Regions from separate parts of the Homo sapiens genome. Here all the other regions are linked to region 4. The links are contacts of gene promoters, found by promoter capture Hi-C in blood cells and fetal thymus (Javierre and others, 2016). All regions are on one chromosome and are shown on one strand. The core of a region is centred on a gene start or on the middle of the fragment in contact, and the rest is flanking DNA. Distances in the headings are between cores, read along the strand shown. Region 1 has its middle 120 kb from the start of CARTPT. Region 2 has its middle 48 kb from the start of CARTPT. Region 3 has its middle 66 kb from the start of CARTPT. Region 4 holds the start of MAP1B (microtubule associated protein 1B). Region 5 has its middle 84 kb from the start of CARTPT.

Evidence for each region. Contacts are between HindIII fragments. The CHiCAGO score rates a contact against its expected background, and 5 or more counts as called.
Region 1: a fragment that was not itself captured here is called in contact with the fragment with the promoter of MAP1B in region 4 in 1 of 17 cell types (endothelial precursors); the score reaches 5.5 in endothelial precursors.
Region 2: a contact is called between a fragment that was not itself captured here and the fragment with the promoter of MAP1B in region 4, in 1 of 17 cell types (endothelial precursors). The highest score is 6.6, in endothelial precursors.
Region 3: a fragment that was not itself captured here is called in contact with the fragment with the promoter of MAP1B in region 4 in 1 of 17 cell types (endothelial precursors); the score reaches 14.5 in endothelial precursors.
Region 5: a contact is called between a fragment that was not itself captured here and the fragment with the promoter of MAP1B in region 4, in 1 of 17 cell types (endothelial precursors). The highest score is 5.4, in endothelial precursors.

The regions. Positions count from the first base shown.
Region 1 is chr5:71,841,171-71,843,870 of GRCh38, forward strand. No RefSeq gene overlaps it. Among named protein-coding and RNA genes, the nearest start is that of CARTPT, 120 kb to the left of the region's middle. The HindIII fragment of the contact is 4,504 bases long and covers 1-2,700 here.
Region 2 is chr5:71,765,792-71,768,491 of GRCh38, forward strand. No RefSeq gene overlaps it. Among named protein-coding and RNA genes, the nearest start is that of CARTPT, 48 kb to the left of the region's middle. The HindIII fragment of the contact is 570 bases long and covers 1,104-1,673 here.
Region 3 is chr5:71,783,645-71,786,344 of GRCh38, forward strand. No RefSeq gene overlaps it. Among named protein-coding and RNA genes, the nearest start is that of CARTPT, 66 kb to the left of the region's middle. The HindIII fragment of the contact is 2,471 bases long and covers 116-2,586 here.
Region 4 is chr5:72,106,168-72,108,867 of GRCh38, forward strand. MAP1B (microtubule associated protein 1B) reads left to right here and starts at 1,308. Exons shown (of 7, transcript NM_005909.5): 1 at 1,308-1,548. The coding sequence starts at 1,365. LOC105379028 (a long non-coding RNA gene) reads right to left here. Exons shown (of 3, transcript XR_007058813.1): 1 at 2,608-2,700; 2 at 1,758-1,820. RefSeq lists enhancers at 1,227-2,209, 2,615-2,700. The HindIII fragment of the contact is 9,795 bases long and covers 1-2,700 here.
Region 5 is chr5:71,802,177-71,804,876 of GRCh38, forward strand. No RefSeq gene overlaps it. Among named protein-coding and RNA genes, the nearest start is that of CARTPT, 84 kb to the left of the region's middle. The HindIII fragment of the contact is 940 bases long and covers 794-1,733 here.

The DNA of each region.
Region 1 (2,700 bases), core at 177-2,676, 260 kb before region 4:
GTGAATATTTGGGTTGCTTCTTCCTGTTGGCTATTGTTGGCAAAGGAACAGCAAAGATTGCCAGCAACCCACCAGAAGGTAGGTGAGAGGCATGGTGCAGATTCTTCCTCACAGCCCTTGGAAGGAACCAACCCTGCTGACACCTTGATCTTGGACTTCCAGCCTACAAAAGTATGAGACAATACACTTGTGTTGTTTAAGCCACCCAGTTTGTGCTACTTTGTTATGGGAACCCTGCCAAACTAATACAAAAGGCAATCCAAGCAGCTGGTAATCTTGTTAGCCCCTCAGGAGAAGATGTTTGTGGTCCCCACTCTAGAGCCCCATAACTAACGAAGCTCAGGTCTTTTCTCTTCCTTTGCTTCTCCAGGTATCATTTTGTCTCTCTACATGTTGTCTCCACCCATATTTCCAGTCTGAATTCCTGAGAAAGAGAAACCGATGGGCAGGCTCTGTATGTTGGCTATCTTTAGGGCAAGTGCCTGTCCTTGATCCAATTAGCTGGGTCCAGGGTCACCAGGCTCTTGGGTTAGCAGGATAGGGATATATGCACAGAAGGAAACATGTTTAAAAGAATTTTAACATGAAAACCATTCTGAGGCTTGGCCTGCCCAGTACAATAGGTGACATATACATGGTATTCCATCATGGGCTTAGCTTGATTTGTACAACCTCATCCTACTTGCTGCCAATGCTTTAGGAAAAATTAGTCAGTTTAATGCCAGGTTATATTGTGATAACATATTAAGTCTGAAATACCAGTAATTAATGCAGCAAGTGTTTATTTCTCACTCACAGTACACATGTAATAAGGGTCATGGGGATTTCTGCCCTATACAGTCGCTTGGGGGATCAGGCTAACAGAGGCTTTACTAACTTGTACTTGCATCACTGGTAACACAGGGCCTCCTTGGCTGTCCATAAGAGAGGAGAGACACAGGAGAATCTGACTTCATTTCCCCAGGTGGGAAGTGACATATATCTCGTCCACCCTCATTTCATTGGTAAGACCTAGTCATGTGACCCACTTAATTACAAGGAGGCCGAATAATGTTTTCTTCCTATGTGCTGGGGACCAGGAAGAGGAGAACCAGATATTAGTGATCACTAGCAATGTTTGCTTCTACTGCATAGTTCTAACGTATAGTTTTTATGTGTGCATATGTGTGTATATGTTTCATGGAAAGAAGTTTATAATCATTTGATTAACAGTACTTTGATACTGGAGTGCTTTCTGGGCTATGATAGACCTAAGATTGACTAAAGGATATGTAACATTTTCCTAAGCATCAGTTATAACTGTCTCTTTTTCTCTCACTCAAGAGAGGATGTTACAATCCAAGGGGGTGCAATTACAGGGATAACTTTGAATCCACTCTAATTCAATTTTTAAGGTAAATCATTCACAAAGTTCAATACTTTAGGAATTACTTGATTAAAATTATTTACCTCTCATTTCATAATTAATCAAGATGTGTTTTGTATTACATGCTTGAAAAATCACCACTCTAAATCTTGGTAAAAGTAAAAGAATAACCAGGAGTTGATGATTTTGAAAGAGTATAACGAAAAAATATTCTGACACTTGTTAAAAGGGTGAGGAAGACTTTACTCAGGTCCACTGCAATAGGTGTCAAGACTATTGCAACAGGGAAGACTGATCAGGCTCAACTCTGAATACTGCAAGGATAGATGAGGATTTACAGCCAATGAGCAGAGACGGGGTCGATAGATGGAAAATGACTAAGGATGAGGAGATTCTTGCTAAATTGCCTTAAGGTTCATGTTGAAGGTGGGCCAGGGTGATGACATATAGAGGTTTTGGGATTCTCACTAAATTGACTTAGCAGGATTCTTGTTTTTCTTTCCTTTCCTTCTTTTTCCTCAGTGCTCTGTATCTCTGATCTTTGACACACACTCACTGACATGGAGATGACCAGAGGCTAGATAAATAAGCTCAATAAATAAACATGCTATTATTCCTCCAAGGAGTATAAGAAGCAGTCACACTTAAAATGATGACTACAAACTTTTTTCCCCTTCTCACCATTGCATACCAGCAGATTGCAAGTATCCTTCAAGTCGAGTGGTCTACAGCACTCAGCTTATGGAGAGGGTGTGGCACCGCATTATATCATGCTTGGATGTTCAAGTGCTTATCCTCCCTCCTTAGTTATGATCGCAAGGGCTGGAGTCTTCTCTTTCAGCTGTCAGTGTGTAATCATAGAGCTTGGATAGTGTTTGGCACATGGCTAGCCACACTGCAAATGATCATTATTCAATTTGACTCAGAAAATAGCAATTTTCCATCCTAAGGATTGAACCTATGTGCCTGTGTTGGGGTTTATGGCTGCCTCATCAACTAATTTGAGGTACCAAGAGGGCACAAAACAAAGACACTTGCTGATCCTGGTACAATTTATTAATTTTAAGAAACTCAAAATGGAGGTTAGTTTACATTGCCAAAGTGCTGACCAAAGACCCAAAGTCCTTAAAATCTTTTTTTAAGGTAAAAAGTAAAAATTCTTCTTTAAGGGTAGTTCAAATGTTTTAACTTCTTCCAAAGAAAATATCTGCTTCATTTAAAATTAAATTTAATTAGACAGAGACGCCAGAATTTTCCTTTCAGTGACTTGGGCATTCCTTTGGAGAGGTTAACCGAAGGAATTCTTTTTGCAAACATAAATATTGCACTGGGGT
Region 2 (2,700 bases), core at 139-2,638, 340 kb before region 4:
TGGCAGTCCTCTAAAAGAGCCACAGGTATGGGCTGTTAGAAGTAAAGACACACGGAAGCTGGAGGAGTGCACACACACCACACACACAGATCCCAGGAGTTCTGGTTGGAACACGAAGGTGGTTTACACCGTGGTTGCTAAAAATTCTGTAGAATACTGTTGGAGATCATTGAGGCGGTGAGAAGGAGGTGGTGTGGATGACACCTGCCTGAGGAGATTTTCAATGTGGATGCAACAGTTTAATTTTAGAAGATGCCTGATAGAGTGTAGGTAAAGCAAAGAGAACAGCACAGCCAGTTTTAAAGCTTCGGGAGCCCTGCTCACACATGAGTGTGATGGCAATCCATCCAGGGACTGCAAGCTTGGACCCTTCTTGATTATGTTTTACTTACTGACACACATACTTACGAAGAGCTTCTGGAACTAAGTAGCTGCTTCTTTGTGAGTGGGAGGAGGCAGGATGAGCCTTAGAAGTTGCTCCTTAGGTCACCCCTAATATTTACAGGACCTGGGGCCGAGCGTTCAAGGTTAGATAAAATAAGTTCTAACACTTACTTTGACAAATACGCTTTCAAAATAGTCTGGAAGGCCAGGCTCAAATTTTGAATTTTCAAACTCCTTGGAGTTTCATGCTGAAATGTGGTGGCTAGGAGAAGGCTGGGCCCAAGCTCATTGGCCCCCACCTGAGCCCCCTTCCCTTTCCATCACTGTCTCCTTCATTGCAAGCATCTTTGAGTACATGTGTGTGGATGCCCCACCTGGAATGTCCAGAGCCTCTGCAAATAGCTGCCCTGGACATTCTTTGGGCTTGGGAGTGTAAATACCAGTGGTGTGGTTTACCCCTGGGAGGATGCACCTATGGACAAGGCCTGTACAGGTCCTGCAAGCAGGCTTGGGGTTGTTTGGGCAGAGAATTCAAGGCTCTTGAGCATCTAGGAAGTGGTCTAGAAGGGCTCTGGGTGGGCACATGCCCTTGGTCTTGCAGATTCCTCTTGCGGTAGAGACAGACATAATCCAAAAAAATGTCAGAGTGGGGCTTTCTAAAACACAAGGTCCAGGTACCGGGAGATACTGCCGAGCGGTGTGATTTTAAGTCACAGTGAAGCTTATCATGAAGAACTGGACCATGGAGGTAGGGAAAGATGCTACTTCACCAATAGGTCATTTCTCAAGATGACTATCTGGGAAATAAACTGTGAACAGGACACATTGGTCTATCCCTTAAAGACCTGAGTGGATTCTTTGATTCATACTGAAGTAGAGAGAGAATGGGGTCAATTGCAAATACCACCTGCCTGTTAGCTTTCAAGGAGTATGGATAGATTTTGCCTCATTTGAGAACGAGTAAACATCAGCAACACATGAGCCCAGTAAAAAAATACTGCAGAACAATGGATAAAGGACAGTACTCTGGAACCTCATAGAAAGATTCTATCTCTGAAGAGCCTATAGGAACAAGAAGAAAATTACAGGAGATTGTTTAGAATCTGCAATAATAGAATTCAATGAGGCATTGTGTTGTGAAACAGGAACATAACACCATGATGAGACAACAGGCTGAAAGAAGACAGCATGTTGAGATATGGAAGGCTTTCAAGTAAACCAAGAGCACAATAACATGATCAGTACCTAACTGTAAATCAGAATCAGTTATGTACTGAACAAATTTGAGAAGCTTTTCTAGGATGCAGAAAAAAATGCACAAGCAGAAGGAAAGAGAGAAAATGAAACCTCTAACATTTGATTACTTTGTGTTTCTAGGGAAGACAGCATAACACATGGAATAGAAGCAATCATAAAAGATGAAATAAAACCTAAGTTTGCAGGCTGCAGGGGTTCACTGCATTTCAGATGAAAACAGAAGAGATCCACATCTACATATATTCAAAGAAAAATTTTGAATTATACAGATTTTTAAAAAGTCCTATAAATCTATTTAGAAAAGATAATTTATCTGTCAATTGCAGGAATTATTGAGTAGTTTTTTCTCCTAAAAGCACTCTGATGCTATTTTGGGAAACTGACTCCTCTCTACTTGAGTCATTACAATGGAACCATAAGTCAAGATATTTTGTCCTTTCCTGCCAAGAAATGGGAATGCAACCTGAGACTGACAGGAGTGTCTCTCTGGAACTGAAACTTTAGCAGAGCAATAAAATGACAGAATATAGTTGTATCTGCTCATTCATCCTAGTTGCAATGCCATAATGTCTTTTATCACTTCTTACAAATTCTAGGATTGGCCCTTGTTTCTTTTTCAAACCTGTTGGGTTACCTTTTCTAGGTTCTAAGTTCCCCTATATTCTGCTTATAACTTCCACTTTTGCTCCAGTTGGCAAGATACCCTAAGAGAAAGGTAGATTTTTGAGGAGCGGGGAAACTGGCCAGAATGGGGAAAAGGGGGAAAATTCGCTTTCATATTGCGGGTTAGTATCCCAACAGTGTAAAACAACTGTTACGTTCCCTCTATGTGCGCCAGAAGGTGGTGCTCTGAAAAACTGAGTAGCTGATGGCAAAAAATAATTTAAACATTCTGGAACAACAGGGTAGGATGGCTGCTTCTGGTGGCATTGAATAACATAAAGTAAGAGAATAGCAAAATCAGATCTCTAAATTATCACATCAGGCTAATTTTCTGTGGCCTTTCTGTTTGGCTCTTCAAGACTCACAATTACTGATATAATCATGTTGCTGTGGGCA
Region 3 (2,700 bases), core at 101-2,600, 320 kb before region 4:
ATCACCACCACAACATAAGAACGACTGAGCATGTGGTACCTATCCGCTCATTTAACCCTTACAGTAATCTGGGATATGTCCTTTATGATGTACTTTTTTCAGGCTAGAAAACTGAAGCTTAGGTTCAATAATTTGCCTAAAGTCATTCAACGTGTGATCAGAAGAGTAGAGATTGAAACTCAGACCATCTGACTCCAGGCCCACAAGGTTGTCCCCGGCACCCTACTAGAACAGCAATTTTGGGGGTAACGGGGCACCCCGGAGGCAGTGCTCAGTGGTTCCAGGTAGCTTGGTGTGCAGAGAGGCACCCAGGTATAGAGATGTGGTAGTCGTTTAGTGTTCACTGTGTCATGTGAGCGCTGTGTCATGTCCTGTGGCTTCTCTCAACACCGTGTGCAGAATCCAAACTTCCCCAGGCCTGCAAGCTCTGAGCTCTGTTCCCCTCTCCTATCCTGCTTGGTCACCCTCCAGGCATCTTTCTCCTTCCAGAACTTGCCAAGCCCATTTCTGCCTCAGGCTCTTTGCACCTGAGCTCTCTTCCCTTAACTCCTCACTGGCTGGCTCTTTTTCCTCAGGGCTCAGCGCAGACAGCCCTTTCTCACCCCATGATGTAAGGAGGCTCCCTCTGCCTCAAGGCCTCCTGACTCCTCACTCTGTTTTATTCCTTTATCGCACTTGTAATGATCTCTAAGTATCTTGTTTGCCTGGGTATCGTCTGTTTTTCTCTCATTGGAATGTAAACTCCATGAGGAGGGGATTGGACAGTCTGGTTCATTGCTGTATTCCTGGAACCTAGAACATGCCAGAAACAAAGGAGGTGCTTAATAAACATTTATTGAATAAATATGATGGGGGAATGTGATAAAAGCAGCAGGAGTTGTGGTCCCACCTGTCAGGAGGCTCACAGGACAACGAGAGAGCCCAGGTTGGCATGAAACAACTGAAGATCAATCATGGCAAGGGTGGTAGTGGCCCAGAATAGTGGTCACAAAAACAGATTCTGGGGCTTACCCACCTTGGGAGGCTGAGGCAGAAAGACGGTTTAAGCCCAGGAGTTTGAGAACAACCTGGGCAACAAAGTGAGACCCTGTCTCTACAAAAAAATAAAAAAAATTATCCTGGTATGGTGGTGTGACCCTGTAGTCCTAGCTACCTGGGAGGCTGAGGTGGGAGGATTGATTGAGCCCAGGAGGTCGAGGTTGCTGTGAGTTGTGATTGTACCACTGTACTCAAGCCTAGGTAACAGAGTAAGATCTTGTCTCTAAAATAAAATAAAATAAAAATAGATAAATCCTGACTCCAGTACTCACTGGCTGTGTGATCTTGGCCAAGTTATTTAGCTCTTTCATGCCTCAATTTTCTCATCAGTAAGTTGAAGATAATAATATTAGTAATATTAATACCCACTCATGGAATTGTTTAAGGATTAAATGAGATATATATGAGTGCTTGGAATGGTGACTGGCACATAGTGCTCTATAAATATTTTTTAAGTAAATAAAGGTATAATTAAGCAGAAACCTATGGCTTTAGAAATTCAGAAAAATGAAAATGCCAGTGTTGGGGAAAGCCCTGTTTCTTGGAGGTGGTTGGATTTGGATTGAGGAAGACAGGGAGTCTGAGGGGATATTTGCACTTGCTCTGGTGCCTCATTTCTATGTAAATATCTATTCAAGAAATATTTGTTTATTGATTTATTTTTGTTCAATAAATATTTATTGAGCATTTATTATGTGTCAGTGCCTAGGATGCAGCAATAAAATTGTAAACAGTACAAAATGAATTTCATTGATTTAAAAAAATTTTTTTTCTTTTTTTTGAGGAAGATGCTCTTTTTTCTCATTTCTTGAATTGGATTCTTGACTTGTATACTTTCAGGAAATATTTATTAAGCATGAGCAAAAAATGGTTAGTAAATCATCCCTCCCAGCCCCACCCCCAAAGTATGCTAAGAATTTATTATATATAATGGGAGTTTTTTAAAAAAACGTTAGTATTGTTTGGACTTAACATACAGAATGATGCTCTAGAAAACCATAGCCTCTCTTCTTCCTCCAGCTACAGTCTTTCCTGTCCCAGTTAGGGTACAGGTTCTGAAATGAACCTCGACTGGCTCTAGGTGACTCTGCTGGAGAGAAGTTCAAATTCCTCACTCTCTCCTCTTAGTTCGATTCAACCAACATGCACTGAGAGCTAACTTTATGCAAGGCAGACATGCGAGTGTAGAGAGGGTAATAAAAATGACATCCTTGATAACACAAGCATCTAGAAGAAGTTTAGAATGAATAGTGGCCCCAGGCCTGCAGTGCAGAGAGGAACCATGATGGGAGCCGGAGGGGAACGGACAGAAGGCCCAGGCCCAAGACGGGACTTCATGTCGCAGAGTGAAACTGGCTCCCAGTCCCCAGGTGGAGGTGGCTCTGAAAGATGACAGTGCCTAAAAAATAGCAACAACATTGAAAACACAATGAAATGCTCATTTTTATATTAAGGGAGGGTGAGTTTTAGAGAAGGGCTCTGTGCATTTTCAACAAGGTGGGAGATAAATGGAAAGAAGCCTTCTCTTGGCTGTAAAGACAACATCAAAGCTTCTCTATTGATCCAAGGGAAATAATTACAGCGATATCCTGAGAGAGTCAATGGACTCCCAACATAGAATTCCACGTCTGATTTATGCAATCTCACCCATTCCCAACACAT
Region 4 (2,700 bases), core at 58-2,557:
TTGACTAATTTCCATCTATTCCTCTTCCTTAAAGCTCGAATTCCCCAGTCTTCTATGATACCATGTTTGCACATTTTGCTCTTTCCTCACCCTCCTCCCCTTTTCTGGGACAGAAGCTATATTCAGTATGTTTGTGAGAAACGGTTGTAAATAGGCTGCCTTAAAAAAAAAAACAAAAAAACAAAAACAAAAAACACATTTTTTAGTTCTTCTAAACACAAACAAAGGCAATAAAAATTCCCAATGCTACAGGTATTTTAAAAGACATCATTGTCACGAGGTAATTTTGCTTGTGTGTTCCCCAAGGAACTGAAAAGTACATTATAGTCACTGTAACCCTGCTGAGTAGAGACAGTATCTTCTCTTTATTCTTTGTTATTACTGATACTATCTGTTCAGCACATTAAGGAAAGAAATTGGTATCTAATATAATACATCTGCATTTCTCTCATTTCCCATGAGCACCACAAAGCCAGTACTTTTTCATCCTTGGCCCTGCCAGAGTAGAATCCAAGGCCTGAACAATAGTAGGCTTAAGTTTTGCATTTTTGATGTATTCTTTAAGTGAAGGTGGTAAATATTGATATTGGTAAATATCAGTAAATTCGTCTTCTTAAAGCCACAAGGTCAAAGAAAAGACAGGTTCCGTCTTCCTAGGCGGGGTACCCACAGCCCCGCATCTGCCCACTGTGGCTATCCCAGTTCCTGAGAACCTGGCTACATCATACACAGCACACAAGGCAGAGGCCTGACTAGTGCAACTCCAACAAGAGAAAAGACCCCCACTCCGAAAATGGAAACTCATCCCATTCCCATGCACAGACAGGGTGAGGGTGAGGAGTGGGCAGTGGGTGTGTACGTGGTGGGTGGTGTAGGTTGAGAGCGTCTTCCCCCTTCACGGCTGCAGCAGGAGCTCAGCGGGCGCCCCAGCCCCTTGGCTCGCGGCCCTGCCCCGACCATTGTCCGCACACCTCGTCCCTCCAGCTTCCGGGCCGCGGGCGAGATGATTTGCTGCAGATGACATCAGCCCCGGGCCAACGGCTGGAAGAGCGGAGGCAGCCACCGCGTGAGGATGTGCCGGGTGGTCCTTTCCTCCTCCTCTTCCTCCTCCTCCCGGCTCCCTGCCTAGTCTCCATATAAAAGCGGCGCCGCCTCCCCGCCCTCTCTCACTCCCCGCTCCTCTCCGCCGCGCACTCTCCGCGGCGCTGGGAGAGGGCGGAGGGGGAGGCGGCGCGCGGCGCCAGAGGAGGGGGGACGCAGGGGGCGGAGCGGAGACAGTACCTTCGGAGATAATCCTTTCTCCTGCCGCAGTGGAGAGGAGCGGCCGGAGCGAGACACTTCGCCGAGGCACAGCAGCCGGCAGGATGGCGACCGTGGTGGTGGAAGCCACCGAGCCGGAGCCGTCCGGCAGCATCGCCAACCCGGCGGCGTCCACCTCGCCTAGCCTGTCGCACCGCTTCCTTGACAGCAAGTTCTACTTGCTGGTGGTCGTCGGCGAGATCGTGACCGAGGAGCACCTGCGGCGTGCCATCGGCAACATCGAGCTCGGTAAGTGGCCCCGCGCCCCCAGAGACGCGCGCTGGGAGACGCGCAAACACGACCCCACCCAGGGCGCGACGGTCACTGCGCTCCTCCCGCGCGCCCCGCACCCATGCCTCTCCTCGTCACCTCTCATACTTGGTCCAGACCCTTTCTGGGCTAATTAAGAATAATCCGAATTATTAGATATGAGACCCAGAGGGAGAGTCTCCAATAACCTTGAGGGATCTGTCACCACGCTGAGTCCGCAGCCTGTGCTGAGTTGGCCACCGCCTCTCCCGCTAAGTGAAATGCAGGTGTCAGGGGAGCAGAGGCCACAATAAAGCCGCAACCGCAGGAGGCAGAAGGGTGGGGGAGACCTGATGCAACCACTCCTTTCAGTCCTCTTCTGGCCTCAGGAAAAGGCTGGGACCCCCACCACCGCAGACCTGGGGCCGAAGCCCATGTGCCAGGGCCCGCGTGGGATTCATCCTCACCACGGCTACCTCAGCCCCTGAGAAACGCCTTTTCTGATTTCAAACCTCCCGATCCTTTCTTTCCTCAGAATGACTAGGCTAGTCCTAGGGCCACGCCCGCTCCCCCCGCCCCCCCCTCCCCGGGGAGATGCTGGGATGCAGAACCGCCTGCGCTTCGCCACCAGACAGAGCCCGCCTCGCTACCGCCCTTGGGGCCTTGGCTGCAGCTCTCAGAAAGGACAATGGGACCCCAAGTTGCGGGGTGGGGCTGCTGCTTTTAGAAGTCCCAGCCTCGGGAGTGGTAGCTTGAAGGGGGTCGGTGAGGGAGACGTCAGCGGGTAGGGTCAGCTCCTCGCCCGGTGCTCGCACCAGTGGCGCGCTCTGCGGAGGCCGAATAGCGGTACGCCGGGGACCCTGGGCGGGGCCGTGAGGGTCCGGCGGGCACAGCCTCGGGCGCACAGAGAGACCGCCCCCAGCCCCACCCGAGCTGCCGCAGTGCCTCCGGACCGCCCGCCACACCTGCCCCCCCACACTGCGGCGCCCCCGTCGGGCACGGCTGGCTGGGCTTGCGCTCCGCCCGGGCCTCGGGCTGGCGGGGGCCGCGCGCCCCCACCTCTCAGTTTGCCTGGCTTTGTTGCCCTGGGAGTCCCTGGGTGGGCAGCTCTGGTCTCTGCCTTTCCCTTTATCCCTGGCGTCCCGGCCCTCC
Region 5 (2,700 bases), core at 14-2,513, 300 kb before region 4:
CCACCACATCTGCAGTCACTTCCTCCACTGAAGTCTTGAACCTCTCACGGTCATCCATGAGGGTAGGAATCAGCTTCTTCCAAACTCCTGTTAATTTTTTTTTCTAGAGACAGGATCTCACTATGTTGCCCAGGCTGGAGTGTAGTGGCTATTCATAGGCATAATTATAGCCCACAACAGTCTTGTGGGCAATCCTCCTACCTCAGCCTCCTGAGTAGCTAGGATTACAGGCACAGACCATTGTAATGGCTTATTAACGTTGATTTGTGACCTCCCTCCACAAATCACAAATGTTCTTAATGGCGTCTAGAATGGTGAATGCTTTACAGATGGTTTTCAATTTACTTTGCCCAGATCCATCAGAGGAATCACTATCTATGGGAGCTATAGCCTTACAAAATGTATTTCTTAAATAAGACTTCAAAGCCAAAATTACTCCTTGATCTGAAGAATGGATATTTTGTTAGCAGGTGTGAAAACAACATTAATCTCCTTGTACATCCCTGCCAGAGCTCTTAGGTGACCAGGTGCTTTGTCAGTGAACATTACTATTTTGAAAAGAATCTTTTTTCTCAGTAGATTTCAAAATTGGGCTTAAAACATTCAGTAAACCACGCTATAAACAGATGTGCTGTCATCAGGCTTTGTTGTTCCATGTGTAGAACACAGGCTGAGTAGATTTTACACAATTCTTAAGTGTCCTGGGATTTTCAGAATAGTAAATGAGCATTGGCTTCAACTTAAAGTCACGAGCTGCTTTAGCTCCTAACCAGAGTGTCAGCCTGTCCTTTGAAGCTTTAAAGCCAAGCGTTGACATCTCCTCCCTAGCTGTGAAAGTCCTGGATCTCACCTTCTTCCACCCTAAGGCTGTTTCATCCGCATTGAAAATCTGTTTTTTAGCGTAGCCACCTTCATCAATGATCTTAGCCAGATCTTCTGGATAACTTGCCATAGCTTCTACATCAGCATTTGGTGCTTCACCTTGCATTTTTATATTATGAAGATGGCCTCTTTCTTTAAACCTCATGAACCAACCTCTGCTAGCTTCCAGTTTTTCTTCTGCAGCTTCTTCCCCTTGCTCTGGATTAGGTTTTGGCTTAGGGGAATGCTGTGGCTGGTTTGATCTTTTATCCAGACCACTGAAACTTTCTCCACATCAGCAATCAGGCTCTTTGGCTTTCCTATCATTCGTGTGTTCACTGGAGTGGCACTTTTAATTTCCTTCAAGAACTTTTTTCTTTGCATTCACAATGTGGCTAACTGGCACAAGAGATCTCACTGTCAGCCTATCTTGGCTTTCAACATACCTTCCTCACAAACTTAATCATTTCTAGCTTTTGATTTGAAGTGAGAGACACATGACTCTTCCTTTCACTTGAACACTTAGAGGCTATTGTAGGGTTATTAACTGGCCTAATTTCAGTATTGGTATGTCTTTGGGAATAGGAGGCCCAAGGAGAAGGAGAGAAGTAGGGGAATCGCTAGTTGATGGAGCAGTCAGAACACACCCATTTATCAATTAGGTTTGCCGTCTTATAGGAACGTGGTTCTTGGCATCCCAAAACAACTGCAATAGTAACATCAAAGATCATTGGTCACAGATAACCATAGCAGATATAAGAGTAATGAAAAAGTTTGAAATTCTGTGAGAATTATGAAAATGTGACATGAAGGGAGCACATGCTATGAGATAAATGGCACCAATAGATTTGCTCGACCCACTGTTGCCACAAAGCTTCAGTTTGTAAAAATCGCAATATCTGCAAAGCACAATAAAGCAAAGCCCAATAAAAGGAGATGTGCCTGCATATTTTTTCATGTCAATAATACTTTTGGTACCAGTATGTATTCTATTATACAGATGCACAATAAGTTATTTGGTGAATCTCCTATTTACAAACATTTAGGTGGTTCATGATTTTTCACCACTACAAATAATGCTAAATGAATAATTCTATACGTATTTCTTTACACAATTTGTGGAATTGCAACTTTGGGTAAATTCATAAAAGTAGAGTATGTAAATTAAGGTGTGAACCTGCTGGAAATTTGGAACCATTTTGAAAAATTGTCATTCAGAGATGTTATATGAGTTTATACTCCCATCCATAGTATGCAAAACTGCCCTTTTGCCAACACACTTCTCAATATAGAGTATTAGCAAACTTTTTTTTTGCCAATCTGAAAAGTGAAAAATATTTGTTCTTTATATGTTTGATGATTAATAAAGTTGAATTTTTTTTACCTGTATGTTGGCCAATTGCTGTTTTTTCTTTTGTGTATTGCCTGTTAGTCTCTCCTGTATTTCTACTAATATCAAAATGTTTTTCTAATTGATTTTTTAAAAACTATTTTCATATTAGGGCTATCAGCGTATTGTCATTTTGTTAAAATATTTGTGGTAGTTTTTGAAAGACAGAATGTGTTAGTTTCCTATTGTTACTATAACAAAGTATCACAAGCTTGTGGCTTTAAGTAACATAATTTTATTCTCTTACCATTCTGGAGCCCAGAAGTCCAGTTTCACTGGGCTAAGGTCAAGGTGTTGGCAGGGCTAGTTCTCCTGGAGGCTCTGGGAGAGTGTTTCCCTGTCTTTTCTAGCTTTTAAAGGTTGCCGTGGCGTTTTTGTCCTGTACTCCTTCCTTGCAACACTTCATGCGTCTGTCTCCACATCTCCTGAGTCCTTTGACCTTCTTGCCT